Regions from separate parts of the Homo sapiens genome. Here all the other regions are linked to region 3. The links are contacts of gene promoters, found by promoter capture Hi-C in human tissues and cell types (Jung and others, 2019). All regions are on one chromosome and are shown on one strand. The core of a region is centred on a gene start or on the middle of the fragment in contact, and the rest is flanking DNA. Distances in the headings are between cores, read along the strand shown. Region 1 overlaps IL21-AS1 (IL21 antisense RNA 1). Region 2 overlaps IL21-AS1 (IL21 antisense RNA 1). Region 3 holds the start of FGF2 (fibroblast growth factor 2).

Region 1 (4,677 bases), core at 1,605-4,104, 170 kb before region 3:
TTTTCGGTTTTCCATTTGTAAAATGGGGATAATAACTATTTCATAGGGATGCTGTAAGAATTAAGTTTAAAAATGAGTATTCAGGTAAATGCTAGCCAAAATCTTGGTGGCCTCACAAGAGTAGTTTATTTCTTGCTCACATCACAGTTCAAAGGGGTCCTACTGATCACCAGACAGCTCTCCAACAAGTGTTGATTTGGGACCAAGCTCATTTTATCTTAATGACTCCACCATCTTCAACTTGGGCTTCCAAGGTCACCCTGGAGCCCAACATCCATCCAACAGAGCAGGAGGAGAGGGCATGAAGGAGGTTTTTATGAGCCAAGCCTGGAGCTTCATACACCAGTTCTACACCCATTCCTTTAGCCAGAACTCAGTGTCATGGTTGCATCTCACTGCTGGGAAGGCTGGGGAACATGGTCCAGCAGTCTCAGACACAGCATGCCAATTAACAAATACATGTAAAGTAATTAGCTCAGCTCCTCCTTCACAGTAAGTGATCACAAATGGTAGTAGCCACAATTTTTAGTAATAGAAACATAAGCAGCACTCTAATGCAGTTGGGCACTTTTATTTGTATACTATGTAATACTATTTCTAGTCTTCCAAGTTTTTAGCATGACACATATAAAACTAAGAGGCAATATGATGAGGTGAAAATAGCCTGGTCTTGGAGATGCAGCTTCTAATCCTGTGATCTTGGACAAATCACTCAATCTGAAACCCAGTTTCCTCATCTGGAGAATGGCAGGGTATCTGTGTAGTCTCCTCCTAACCCCAACTCCCCAGCTCTAAAGCTTTTTGCGTAGAAGTAATGCAAAATCAAGACAAACAAACATTCAGTGATTCTCAGAATAGGCAAGTCACAGAACATGAGTCTTGGATGGGCTTAGATGGGAAATATTTCTAAAGGAGAAAGAGCTTTAAGCCAGTTCTTGGAAGAAATGATGGTCCTGAATAGTGGGAATGAGGTATGGAATGTTATGCAGGGAAGGTAGGAGAGGCCTGTACACAAGAAAAATGTCGGGAGTGGCCGGGCGTGGTGGCTCACGCCTGTAATCCCAGCACTTTGGGAGGCCAAGGTGGGCAGATTACTTGAGGCTAGGAGTTCATGACCAGCCTTGCCAACATGGTGAAACCCTGTCTCTACTAAAAATATTTAAAAAGTTAGTCGGGTGTGGTGGCAGGTGCCTGTAATCCCAGCTACTCGGGAGGCTGAGAGAGGAGTATCACTTGAACCTGGGAGGCGGAGGTTGCAGTGAGCCGAGATCGTGCCACTGCACTCCAGCCTGGATAACAGAGCGAGACTCCATCCCCTCACCAAAAAAAAAAGAAAGAAAAAAGAAAAATATAGAGGAGGGAGCATAGTAAGGAGAAAAGCCTGGCTGAAAAAGGGAGTGTGTTGGGGTGGGGATGAAGAGTGAATTGAAGATGTTTGCTAGGTAGAGGGAAAGAAAAAGTTAACGATAGATTGCCAGGCTTAAGAGGTCATATTTAATCCAGAAAAGTCCCATTTGGAAACCAATTATGGGTTTTAGATGGGCAACTGACATCATGAAAATCTACTAGTCATTATGAAAAGAAATCTGATTAGATCATAGCACTTGATATAGAGTGGCTTTCCTTAAATTGCTGAACTTGTAAAATCTAAATGTTCCATTAAAAAATCTTCCAAATATGTTAGTTATCTGAATTCTCTATTCATTCCAAGGAAAAAGAAAGAGGTTCACATGGTAATGAAGAAAAAATGAAGGTATACGAAGAATCAATTTGTTGAAAGAGCGCCCAATTTCTCTTCTGTCTTTTATTTGATTCTTTTTAATTAAGAATAAATATGTAGGTAAGACATGAGTCAGAGCAAACTCAGAAAGTACCTAGAAGCTTTCAGTATTTGAGGCATGCTAGCTAGTTTCATGTGGGTGAAGTTTGGTTTTCAGGAAGACAAATTGAAAACAGAACTTGTTTGTTTAGATTTTGCCATTCTCTAGGTGACTTACAAGGATGTTCAATGAATTATAAGAAGAAAGAATTTCTTCTTGGCAACTGCTATAAAGAGCCTTGTTTGGAGAGAATATGGTCCCAGAGCAGACCTTGAGCACATGACAGTTGTTCTTGGGACCAGGTCTGGGGAGACCACGTCTTAGCTGAAATAAACACAAGCAGAAGTTCAGTCCAGTCCTCAAACCAGGTTTTCAATAAATGTCTGTGTCACCCCTTTAAGAAACAGGAGAGCTGTGAAACACTCCAGAGAAATGCTGTTAGATGATGTGCTTGACTCTCCTTCAACTCCAAGAAGCTCTTGGGAGGCGCCATTTTTTTTTTTTTTTTTTAGAAAAAGATTACATTTTAGAAGAAGAATAACTGTTATTTACTACATTATTAATTTACACAAATGAAATAGTCTACTATTAAATAACCACATGACTGTACAACGCACAAGTCTTTTCTGGGTTTCAGGTGTCAGTTTTCTTCTCTGTAAAATATGAGGATTAGATTTCAGGGCTTCTTCCTCATCTAAAATGATAAAATCCAACTCAAAGACCTTCTTCTTTCTGGTGAAGTAACATGAAGCTTGAAGTCACTTTATCACATTGTTCTACATCTCTATTACTCTTTTTTTTTTTTTTTTTTGACAGAGTCTCGCTCTGTTGCCCAGGCTGGAGTACAGTGGCACGATCTTGGCTCACTGCAAGCTCTGCCTTCTGGGTTCACACCATTCTCCTGCCTCAGCCTCCCAAGTAGCTGGGACTACAGGCGCCCGCCACCACACCTGGCTAATTTTTGTATTTTTAGTAGAGACAGGGTTTCACCACGTCAGCCAGGATGGTCTCAATCTCCTGACCTCGTGATCCGCCTGCCTTGGCCTCCCAGAGTGCTGGGATTAACTCAAGACACAGTAGTTGGCATTGACTCTCTGATGAAGTTCCAGATGGGAGAGTTAGTACATTTGTGTATATAGAGAGAGCAGAAGTTACAGGGATATGGATTTTGACTCCATTTAAGGAAGAACTCTGAAATACAAAGCTTTGGCGCAGTGAACCACCGTGCCCGGCCTCTATTACTCTTAATGTATAGGAAAACACTAGCAGACCATTGAGTAGGTACTGAGGGAAGAATCCTGCATTCAGCACAATAACACATCAGTGGGAGCCTCGAGCCTAAAGCTACTTCCCTCCCACCCCAAAGACAGCAAAGGACAGGAGCTGGTCTTCGTATCTTTATGCTTCTTAGAAACACCTGTGTTTTAATTGTGGCTCTACAATAGAGTGTTTGGACATGGGCACTTTCTAGTTTGGCAGTAGTTTATTTGCTATGTATCCTTATTCCTTATTCCAATTCAGTGTTTTTACATGGGTTCTACTTTTCTCTCAAGAAGGTGATTTTTTTCTAAAGCAGGACCATATCCTAAATAGAGCAATTTTATACGCAGTGTCCAGGACACAGTATTTGATTATAAAATGATAATGATGAGAGCTTAAAAAATTCAAACTATAGAGCTGGTAGAGATTTTAGAGCAGCACTGTCTAATATGGTAGCCACTAGCCACGTGTAGCTATTTAAATTAATTAGAATTAAATTAAATTAAAAAATCAGTTCCTCAGTCATACAAGTGCTCAATAAGCACAGGTAGTCAGTGACTACCATTTTGGACCTCACAGATACGGAACATTTCCATCACTGCAGAAAGTTATATAGTACAATGCTGCCTTAGCGATCAACGAGACACAAAATCATATTTGTAAAAGATGTCAGGGAACTTGGAATCCACTTAATACATTCTTATATCCAGGACATTTCAAATATTTTCAGTATCAAATAATATATCACCTTACAAAGTGGCCATTCCACCTTAGGAAAGCTTTGTATTTGAGAGTTCTTCCTTAAATGGAGTCAAAATCCATATCCCTGTAGCTTCTGCTCTCTCCATATACACAAGTATACTAACTCTCCCACTTGGAACTTCATCAGAGAGTCAATGCCAACTACTGTGTCTTGAGTTAATTCCTCTTTCCCAGTGAACCCGTGCCACAGATGAGGAGGCTGAGGCTGGAGTTAGCAGTCCTCCCTGGAGACTCCATGACAGAACTAAGACTGTTGATGTATTCCGGTCTAGCTGAACTGCTTTCAAGTCTAGAAACTAATTCATTAAAGAATGTGTGTGCATAAATTTGTAGAGTTTAAGTTCTTAGTCTTTTATCTTTTTTCCATTTTGTTGTTGCTGTTGTTGTTTTGTCATTGCTTTATTCTCTTTTTGCGCTGCATACTTCCTAAGAGACTGTAAGCTATTCCTTCCCCAGAAAAGCAAAGATTACTCAGGCTCTGCATGAGTGTTTCAGAATATAAAGCAATTGCCCTCATCCACACCCCAAATAACCCCAGATGCCAAGCATAGAAATCACCAAATGGCTTGCTTCAGTTTGACAGTTCAAAAGCAGTTTAAGGGTAAAAGAGGAAACCAGAAGCATTAAAGATCAATGATGTACTTCCACATGGTGTCTAGAAGAGAGGATGCCTTTGATAACGTATCATAAAGAAAGGGCATCTACCTCTCCAAAGTGGAGACTCTGCAGGTGAGATACTGTGTTAAGTGCCAATTGCAGCTTTGGATCTGTTCAACAAATGCACATTGAAGTGTGGAGTCTGTGCTGGGGCAACAAAGATGATTGAAACATTGTG
Region 2 (4,525 bases), core at 1,779-4,278, 190 kb before region 3:
CATTGCTGATGTTGGATTAAACAGAACAGCCTGTGCAGTTAGTTCATGGATTCCATAAAGGGACTGGACCTTAATGAAGACGTTCCTGACATGGGTTTGGGGTAAGAAGGAGAGTCTGTTTGCAAAATTATTATTGATAATAACTAGAATTTAAATGTATATCTTTTCTTGGTTAATTAAATAAATTAATCAGCTCCCCATCTGGGCCAGAATATCCAATTGCTTCTCTTTCATTGACTTTAACTAGTGACAACCTGGTCCAGTATAAGACCTAATAATAATTTTCCAGTGTTTTATATCCATAAAAGAAGAGAGAAAGAAATGAATAAACTTCTGCCGTCATTTGGGTCTTGAATAGCATAGACAAAAATCAATCAGGAAATCAGTTATCTTGACAACAAGAAAGGGCAAAAGTATGACTTAGTTATTTACATTTACTTATTGTTCATTTTCTATGTTTTTCAAGCCTTTTCATTGTTATGAGAACATCGAAACACTCACCTTTTGCTCCATTTAGCTCTCAGAACTTTAAAATACACACCAAGGGGGATATCAGTGCAAAAGAAGAAGGAAAACCAGGAATACAAAAGAAACATGCTTGTAACAAGAATCAACTAAAAGTAAATTTTCATGAAATTAAGAGATAGGTGGTTCAATGATTTTGGATATTGGCAGTTAAGTCATCACAGGTCAGATTAACGTATTTAGTCAAAGCTGTTCTGTCATCAAGATCTGCATCAATCAGAAGCTTTAATGACATGACAGGGATGAGGGACTCTCTGGCCCTTGACTTGACTTATCCAGCTCTCAGAACCACTGCTCTGGTCATTGCTACTGTCTTCAGAGAATTATTTTTAATGGCGCTGGTGTTCAGGTCAGCATTTAGAAATGTTTACATTTAGGTTATTAGAAACCTAATAGAGGCTGGGGAAGGTCAACAGTAATCGTTAAGAATGATGACTGCTAGCAGCCACCACCCAAGGGAGCCACAGACATGGCAAAGCTCTGCTTGTCTGCCTCCCTCTCCCTTCGTCTCCCTCCTGCTTCCTCTCTGGGTCTCTCTATTCCTCCTTCCTCTTTTGTTGCTCATTCCTCCCAGATTTCTTCTCCTCTTTACTTCACTTTTTTCTTCCACTTTGTTTCATATTCAAATCTGCATACCATGAAACTAAAACGTATTTTAATTGTAATTGTTTTATTAAATAAACCTTTCTAGCCTCTAAATAGTTGTTTAAAATAAAACAAATTGAATACTATAATCTCTCTAAGGACTAGAAAGAGGCTCTTTTAAATGACTTTTGGTATTTGAGCTTTGGGGTTTTTTTTTTCCTTCCTTGAATCAATGATCCTGTGCAGAAAAACAAATAACACTGTTTGACTTCTTCTAATTTACGGAAATATAAGTGAAGGAAAACTGTTATAAAGAGACAATATCTGCTTAGTATGTAGGAGAAAGATGATTTGGGAATATCCTGCTTACTTTCTGAATCCCTAAAGAGTAATTTTATTTTAGAAAACATTCTCTTACATGTTGTCAATTGTTCTCTGTGTCAAAGCTCTCTGAGTTGCCACAACCATGGGCTTCTGTGGAAACTGCCTTCAGTTAGCTCCTATTGTACACTGCACATAACTCATACCAAGCCTGAGTTATTCACATATACACAAATCCAGCAGGCACCATCAGAGAAGAAACACTTTACACAATTTGTGTGGGATACTGAATAGAGTAATTCTGTTTTCATTTATCTGCTAAGCTATATGTGAAGAATCCAGGAAAAGAAAGTTATGTTTCCCATAAGCTCATAATGGATACACAAAAATAGTTAAATTGGGCCAGGTGTGGTGGCTCACGCCTGTAATCCCAGCACTTTGGGAGGCTGAGGTGGGTGGATCACCTGAGGTCGGGAATTCAAGACCAGCCTGACCAACATGGAGAAACCCCGTCTCTACTAAAAATACAAAAAGTTAGCCGGGTGCGGTGGCGCATGCCTGTAATCCCAGCTACTCAGGAGGCTGAGGCAGGAGAATTGCTTAAACCCGGAAGGTGGAGGTTGTGGTGAGCCAAGATTGTGCCTTTGTACTCCAGGCTGGGTGACAAGAGCAAAACTCTGTCTCAAAAAAAAAAAAAAAAAAAAGTTAAATTGAATCTGTTATTGGGTGGAGGCTTTCTGAGATGGAGCTCAAGGAGGGTTTCAAGAAGAAGACATTAGAATAAAAAGTCCTTGAGAGCAGAAAGCTTTATATGGAATAAAAGTTCAACACCCTTCATGTTGTGTCTTCTGCGAGCATTACACTAAATCTGGGAAGGGTCATCAGGTGATCTGACTGAGATGAAAATATGGTCTCAGTTATGTTAGACAGATTGGAAGGAGTTTGGAGACCAAAGTGGAGGAAAGCAAGAAAAGTATAATAGAAAGTGTCTGTGCAATGCACATATTAAGTACTAAATGATTCAGCCCAATAAGGTGAAATATGACAAAGTTTGGAGTAATTAACAAACACCTGTAGGCGTGTTGGGAGACTCATGATCTTACTATGACAACAAGGTGAGATGACTGCCCTGAAAGGACTCTTGGTGGGGTTTCCCTGCAGGTAAAGGGGAGGAAAGATGATAGGCAGAGCTTGGTGCTCCTCCAGCCCTGCTTCAACCAGAACAAATCCTTTTATCTGTTTTACACTTCGGGTCCTATGTAAGATTTCATTTGGAAAAATATGTTTACCTGGTAGGAAAAAAGAAATTAAAGGTGACTAATCTAGCCCCCTATTTACAGAGGCCCAGAACAGTGGCATGACCTGCCCAGGAAAACTCAACAAGGATGTACTCCAGGTGTTCTTCCTCAGATGAAGAATCCATATCATGGCCCACAGGAGGCTTGACAAGCCCACTTTTACCCTGTTGCCCATGGGTCGCTAATAGATAATCTCAGTTGGCATCTGTTGGACACATCCTATTGTGCCAGGCACTATTCTTAATTTCGTACTTAGATATTTTTTAGCTATTACTATATGTCATCTATTCGTGGACATTATATTCATAAATTAATATTTCTGAAACCAGCTGCCTCTCACAATCAATGGCAATGTAGATTCAATGAAGTACCATAAACCTAAGCCTCACATTTGTGAGGTAGCTACTATTGTCATCCACTTTAGAGATGAGAAACTGGAGACACAGAGGGATGAGGAAACCTGCCCAAGGTCACACTTAATAAATGGTGATGGGATAGCTACTGCTAAGACACGAATATTGCTACTGGCACGGTGATACAGCGGCCTAGGATGATTTCTGTTAGTGTTAGGAATGGACGTGATTAATACGGGAACTGTGGTGAGGGTGGCAGAAAATCCCTGGCATTGTATAAAATGAAGAGCACCTTGTTGGCAATGGGAAGCCTAAGACTCACATATCTGTATGTTTTCTATAAACTCTGCTCACTCTAACTCCTTTATTCACAGGAAAAACTATCAGTCTTTAATGAAAAAGTAAGAAACTTTGACTTTAAATGATATATGTAAGTCCATTAAAACTTTCTTGCAAATAGCAGGGATTAACTCATTAAATGTTAGTTCCCTGCCTTTTTTCAGAAATTGAGGAAAAGCTTTCTTGTGGATCACACTTTTTTAAAAAGTGTGATAGTAGTGGCTGCTATCGCTGATGATAGAAAGTAAGCTTTGGGGAATGTGGTGGTTAGAACTTTGACAATCCCAGCCGATTTCTAAATAGATTTATAACGTGAAATAATTTTCCTAGCTACACAAAAGATAAGAAAAGCATTTTTGGCAAGAGAAGAGTAGCTATAATTGTTTAAGCTCACTGGAATATCATGGTGGAGGGGAGCGGTGAAGGTAATTTAAATTAATTGCTAAGGTCAGGTGCAGAATGTCTTAATTGCAAGAAAGGTGAATAAGAACAAGACCAACAGGGGAGCTTAGTGTACTTCCGCTTTGTGTGTGTATGAGGTGGGGAAAATACATGGTTTCCCTGTCACTTAATGAGAGCAAATAGGCAAATGACGTGTATTTAGCATACTTCACCTAAGAGGTCTGCGGCTTAGGAACATGCTGAGTCAATTTGTTACTTGAGAATTTACATAACTTTGGTAATGGACTTCCCCAAAAATGGAATTCTAAGCAACCTCATATCCCTAGCTGGGGAGGGCTGAGATTTCCTTTTTCCTCTATCTTGGACAGTCCAAATTATGAGGTGGATACAAACCAGACCTCATTCTCTCCACCCACATTTTCCTTTACCTAACAACAAAAAAGGTTTTTCCTACAAGCTTAGTCACTGGCAGATTAAATAGCATTCTGAAAATTAGGAGGTAAGGTGACAGAATTGCTTTCAAGGAATTTTTTAAACTCTAAGTTGAGGATTCTTAAATTCATTATTCAGCATTTACCATAAAAATGTGCCAATCTGAAAGATAAAATGACTTGCCATTAAAACAATAAATAGGAAGCATTACATCATCAGAAAACATTTATTGAGCATATGTGTGTTTGGTATTTCTCTAGATGCTATCAG
Region 3 (4,292 bases), core at 221-2,720:
ATCCCAGCTATTCGGTAGGCTGAAGTAGGAGAATCGCTTGAACCCAGGAGGTGGAGGTTGCGGTGAGCCGAGATCGTGCCATTGATCTCCAGCCTGGGCAACAAGAGCAAAACTCTGTCTAAAAAAAATAAATAAATAATAAAAATAAAAACAGTATGCCTGGTTTTAAAGCTTCAAAGAATTTACTCATTCTCCTGTATGTAACATTCTAGAAATGCATCTGGAGTTAAAGCCTTCTTGGAGACTTAAGAACAAATGCACTTATGCATGGCCTTTTGAAACCTAATGTTTCTACAAGGAGGCACGTCCATACTTGCAACTCCTTCTAGAAGCTTCCCCAAATCTCCTGCCTCCCCACGCTGAGTTATCCGATGTCTGAAATGTCACAGCACTTAGTCTTACTCTTCTATGGCCTACTTTCTACTGCTATTTGTGTTACTCATGCTACCCATCTTATCTCCCTCAGTGTGTGAGACGCTGGCATCAGATTTGGCATCTCCCACACACTCAACATTATGTGTTGCACACAGTAGGTACTCAATACATGCAAGTTTTCTGAATAGATATTTTCCTAGTCATCTGTGGCACCTGCTATATCCTACTGAAAATTACCAAAATGCAATTAACTTCAATTTTACATTTGGGATTTACAGAAAATAACTCTCTCTCCAAGAAATGCATAACAATTTAGCTAGGGCAAATGCCAGGTCCGAGTTAAGACATTAATGCGCTTCGATCGCGATAAGGATTTATCCTTATCCCCATCCTCATCTTTCTGCGTCGTCTAATTCAAGATAGGTCAGTAAAGGAAACCTTTTCGTTTTAGCAACCCAATCTGCTCCCCTTCTCTGGCCTCTTTCTCTCCTTTTGTTGGTAGACGACTTCAGCCTCTGTCCTTTAATTTTAAAGTTTATGCCCCACTTGTACCCCTCGTCTTTTGGTGATTTAGAGATTTTCAAAGCCTGCTCTGACACAGACTCTTCCTTGGATTGCAACTTCTCTACTTTGGGGTGGAAACGGCTTCTCCGTTTTGAAACGCTAGCGGGGAAAAAATGGGGGAGAAAGTTGAGTTTAAACTTTTAAAAGTTGAGTCACGGCTGGTTGCGCAGCAAAAGCCCCGCAGTGTGGAGAAAGCCTAAACGTGGTTTGGGTGGTGCGGGGGTTGGGCGGGGGTGACTTTTGGGGGATAAGGGGCGGTGGAGCCCAGGGAATGCCAAAGCCCTGCCGCGGCCTCCGACGCGCGCCCCCCGCCCCTCGCCTCTCCCCCGCCCCCGACTGAGGCCGGGCTCCCCGCCGGACTGATGTCGCGCGCTTGCGTGTTGTGGCCGAACCGCCGAACTCAGAGGCCGGCCCCAGAAAACCCGAGCGAGTAGGGGGCGGCGCGCAGGAGGGAGGAGAACTGGGGGCGCGGGAGGCTGGTGGGTGTGGGGGGTGGAGATGTAGAAGATGTGACGCCGCGGCCCGGCGGGTGCCAGATTAGCGGACGCGGTGCCCGCGGTTGCAACGGGATCCCGGGCGCTGCAGCTTGGGAGGCGGCTCTCCCCAGGCGGCGTCCGCGGAGACACCCATCCGTGAACCCCAGGTCCCGGGCCGCCGGCTCGCCGCGCACCAGGGGCCGGCGGACAGAAGAGCGGCCGAGCGGCTCGAGGCTGGGGGACCGCGGGCGCGGCCGCGCGCTGCCGGGCGGGAGGCTGGGGGGCCGGGGCCGGGGCCGTGCCCCGGAGCGGGTCGGAGGCCGGGGCCGGGGCCGGGGGACGGCGGCTCCCCGCGCGGCTCCAGCGGCTCGGGGATCCCGGCCGGGCCCCGCAGGGACCATGGCAGCCGGGAGCATCACCACGCTGCCCGCCTTGCCCGAGGATGGCGGCAGCGGCGCCTTCCCGCCCGGCCACTTCAAGGACCCCAAGCGGCTGTACTGCAAAAACGGGGGCTTCTTCCTGCGCATCCACCCCGACGGCCGAGTTGACGGGGTCCGGGAGAAGAGCGACCCTCACAGTGAGTGCCGACCCGCTCTCTCCGCCTCATTTCCATTTCGTGGGTTCTCGCCCGCTCTCTCCCCTCCAGCCTGCACCCTCCTCCCGGATCTTCACTGCGACCCTAGCGCTCCGTGTGGTTTCTGGCCGCGCGGCCCTCGGCGGTTTCGGGTTCACCACTCACCCCCTCCTTTCCGGGCTGCGGCGTAGGCCCGGGTGTCCCCTGGGCTTTGGGGTGTGCCAATTTGCCCTGTAAACCAGTACCCCCGGCCCGGAGCCGCGGCGCGCCGGGGCCTCGCGGACTGGCTGTCTTCCCGCGGACAACCTGTCGCGTCGGGGATGCCCGCGGCCCCGCCATGCAGCTCTGGCCGCTTCTATCTGCTGCGTGCTGTCCCGGGGACAAAGACAGGAAGGACCGCAGCAGAACGAAACGGTCTTTACTGGAAAAACACCTTTCTAGAGTCCTGCCCTTAAATTCCGACTCGGGACGACCCGAGGCATATGGCACACTACTCTCACCCACTCTGTTTTATATTTTTCCGAATTGACGAAAGCTGAAAGAGCAAAAACAAAAACCAACCAGCCAACCAGCAAAAAATCCAGATGTTGTTAATAAAGTGCCATAGCTTTGTTTCAGTAGTGAAAAGAAGTGCAAACACTTTAATCTTCCACCTGCAGTGACTAGCTTTGAGACCTTGAGCCGACGCTTAACCCCAGAGCCGGTTTCCTCATCGCTCACGTGGGGCTAATATATTACTACCTTGCAGCAGGCTTGAGGATGAAATGAGAATTGCAGTTTTGCTTTCTGTAAGAAACAATGTTTGTGGTTCTAGAAAGAACACTGGCCTAAATAAGGAGTGCTTGGACTTTAGGGGATTCCCTAAGTCTGGAGTGGGGGCTGAAGATTTGCATTTCTAACATGTTCCCCGGGGATGCTGATCACATCACACTTTGAGAGCCACTGGTCTAGAGGAAAGAGAAAGAAAGGGGCATAAGATGAGCCGATTTACAACACTGATGGAATTTGAAGTGAGAGAAAGAGGACTAGAATATATTGTAACCTGTCCTCCTGTAAGTGTATGTAAACATGTGTTTTAAAAGCTGTGTGTTATGGCGTTCCTTCCTTTATGGGTTCCAGGTGGAGAATCTGATTCTCTCATTGCCTGAGAAAAGACCCACAGGGGTCCCAGCGCCACTCCCCTGTAGTTCTGCCTTTGTCTTGGGATGCTAATGGGATGTCATGAGGGGAGGTGGAGGGGGGCTGGAAGAGAAGAAAATTCTACAACCAAACGTGAATTGGCAGAAGAATGGGCAATACACTTTCATATGAGCTGAGTCTTTATTGCTTCCAAAATAGCAACCTGCAAGAGAGGCAAGTATTTAATTTTTTTCAGGCTTGCCATAATTTAAAAATTTTATCAATCACTTAATCCCGTAAAACTGAAAAGATGCTTGTAACCTATTAGATGGGTTAGTGCTAGTTCTCTATTCTGGTAACTTGAACTCATCTATTTCAAAAAATTATCTTTGTGATTGAAGTTTGTTCTGCAGTTGTCTGCTACGCCATCTCAGCTGACAAGGGCAAGGTGCTGTGTGTCCCAATTGGTTTTGTTCTTTCTAGTATCACAAATTATTTATTAAAAAGCATGTATTATGACCAGAAGACAGAAGAATTTCCCTTTAAATTAAATTAATATTTGGGGCTTCCCCTAATACTCTTTTTTTTTCAGACTCTATTAGTTGCTGAATCATTTTTTCTTTGAAGATTTTGATACCCGATTCGCCTTAGAATAAAACTATGTAGAGGTTAGCCAGTGGACATAATTTTGAATTGCATACCACATTACCACCGTTGTAAAAACAACCGTTAACTTTTTCTTCCTAACTGTGAGTTGGGTTTTCATTTTTGTAATCTTACTTTAACTCTGTGGTTCTCAAATGGGGACGATTTTGCCTCCCAGGGGACATTTGACAATGCCTGGAGACATTTTTGGTTGCTGTAACCTGGAAGGGTGCTACTGGCATCTGGCAGGTAGAGGCCGGGGATGCTGCTGAACATCCTACAATACACATTATAATACCCTCAACAAAAACATTTTTGACCCCAAATGTCACTAGTACTCAGGTTGAGAACTCTGCTAACTTTATAACTAGCTAAGGACAAGACATTAAAAGGGAAATGTAGAATAACTCATCCAGACTTGTGGAGACTACCAATTTTTTTAAAATTTTTTATTTCTATAGGGTTTTAGGGACCAGGTGGTAGTTGGTTACATGAGTAAGTTCTTTAGTGGTGATTTGTGAAATTTTGTTGCACCCATC

What was found. Contacts are between HindIII fragments. The study calls those that stand out against the background at their distance.
Region 1: a fragment that was not itself captured here is called in contact with the fragment with the promoter of FGF2 in region 3 in 1 of the 25 tissues and cell types used here (spleen).
Region 2: a fragment that was not itself captured here is called in contact with the fragment with the promoter of FGF2 in region 3 in 1 of the 25 tissues and cell types used here (H1 embryonic stem cells).

The regions. Positions count from the first base shown.
Region 1 is chr4:122,657,015-122,661,691 of GRCh38, forward strand. All of the region lies in intron 10 of IL21-AS1 (IL21 antisense RNA 1), which reads left to right. Among named protein-coding and RNA genes, the nearest start is that of IL21, 38 kb to the left of the region's middle. The HindIII fragment of the contact is 3,031 bases long and covers 1,340-4,370 here.
Region 2 is chr4:122,628,896-122,633,420 of GRCh38, forward strand. IL21-AS1 (IL21 antisense RNA 1) reads left to right here. Exons shown (of 11, transcript NR_104126.1): 7 at 1-101. Among named protein-coding and RNA genes, the nearest start is that of IL21, 10 kb to the left of the region's middle. The HindIII fragment of the contact is 3,072 bases long and covers 1,493-4,525 here.
Region 3 is chr4:122,825,361-122,829,652 of GRCh38, forward strand. It overlaps FGF2 (fibroblast growth factor 2), which reads left to right and starts at 1,471. Exons shown (of 3, transcript NM_001361665.2): 1 at 1,471-1,992. The coding sequence starts at 1,815. RefSeq lists promoters at 330-1,512, 681-1,648, cis regulatory regions at 705-775, 776-814, silencers at 1,314-1,793, 2,134-2,428 and enhancers at 2,014-2,093, 2,376-2,901, 2,774-2,913, 2,902-3,427, 2,954-3,003. The HindIII fragment of the contact is 11,104 bases long and covers 1-4,292 here.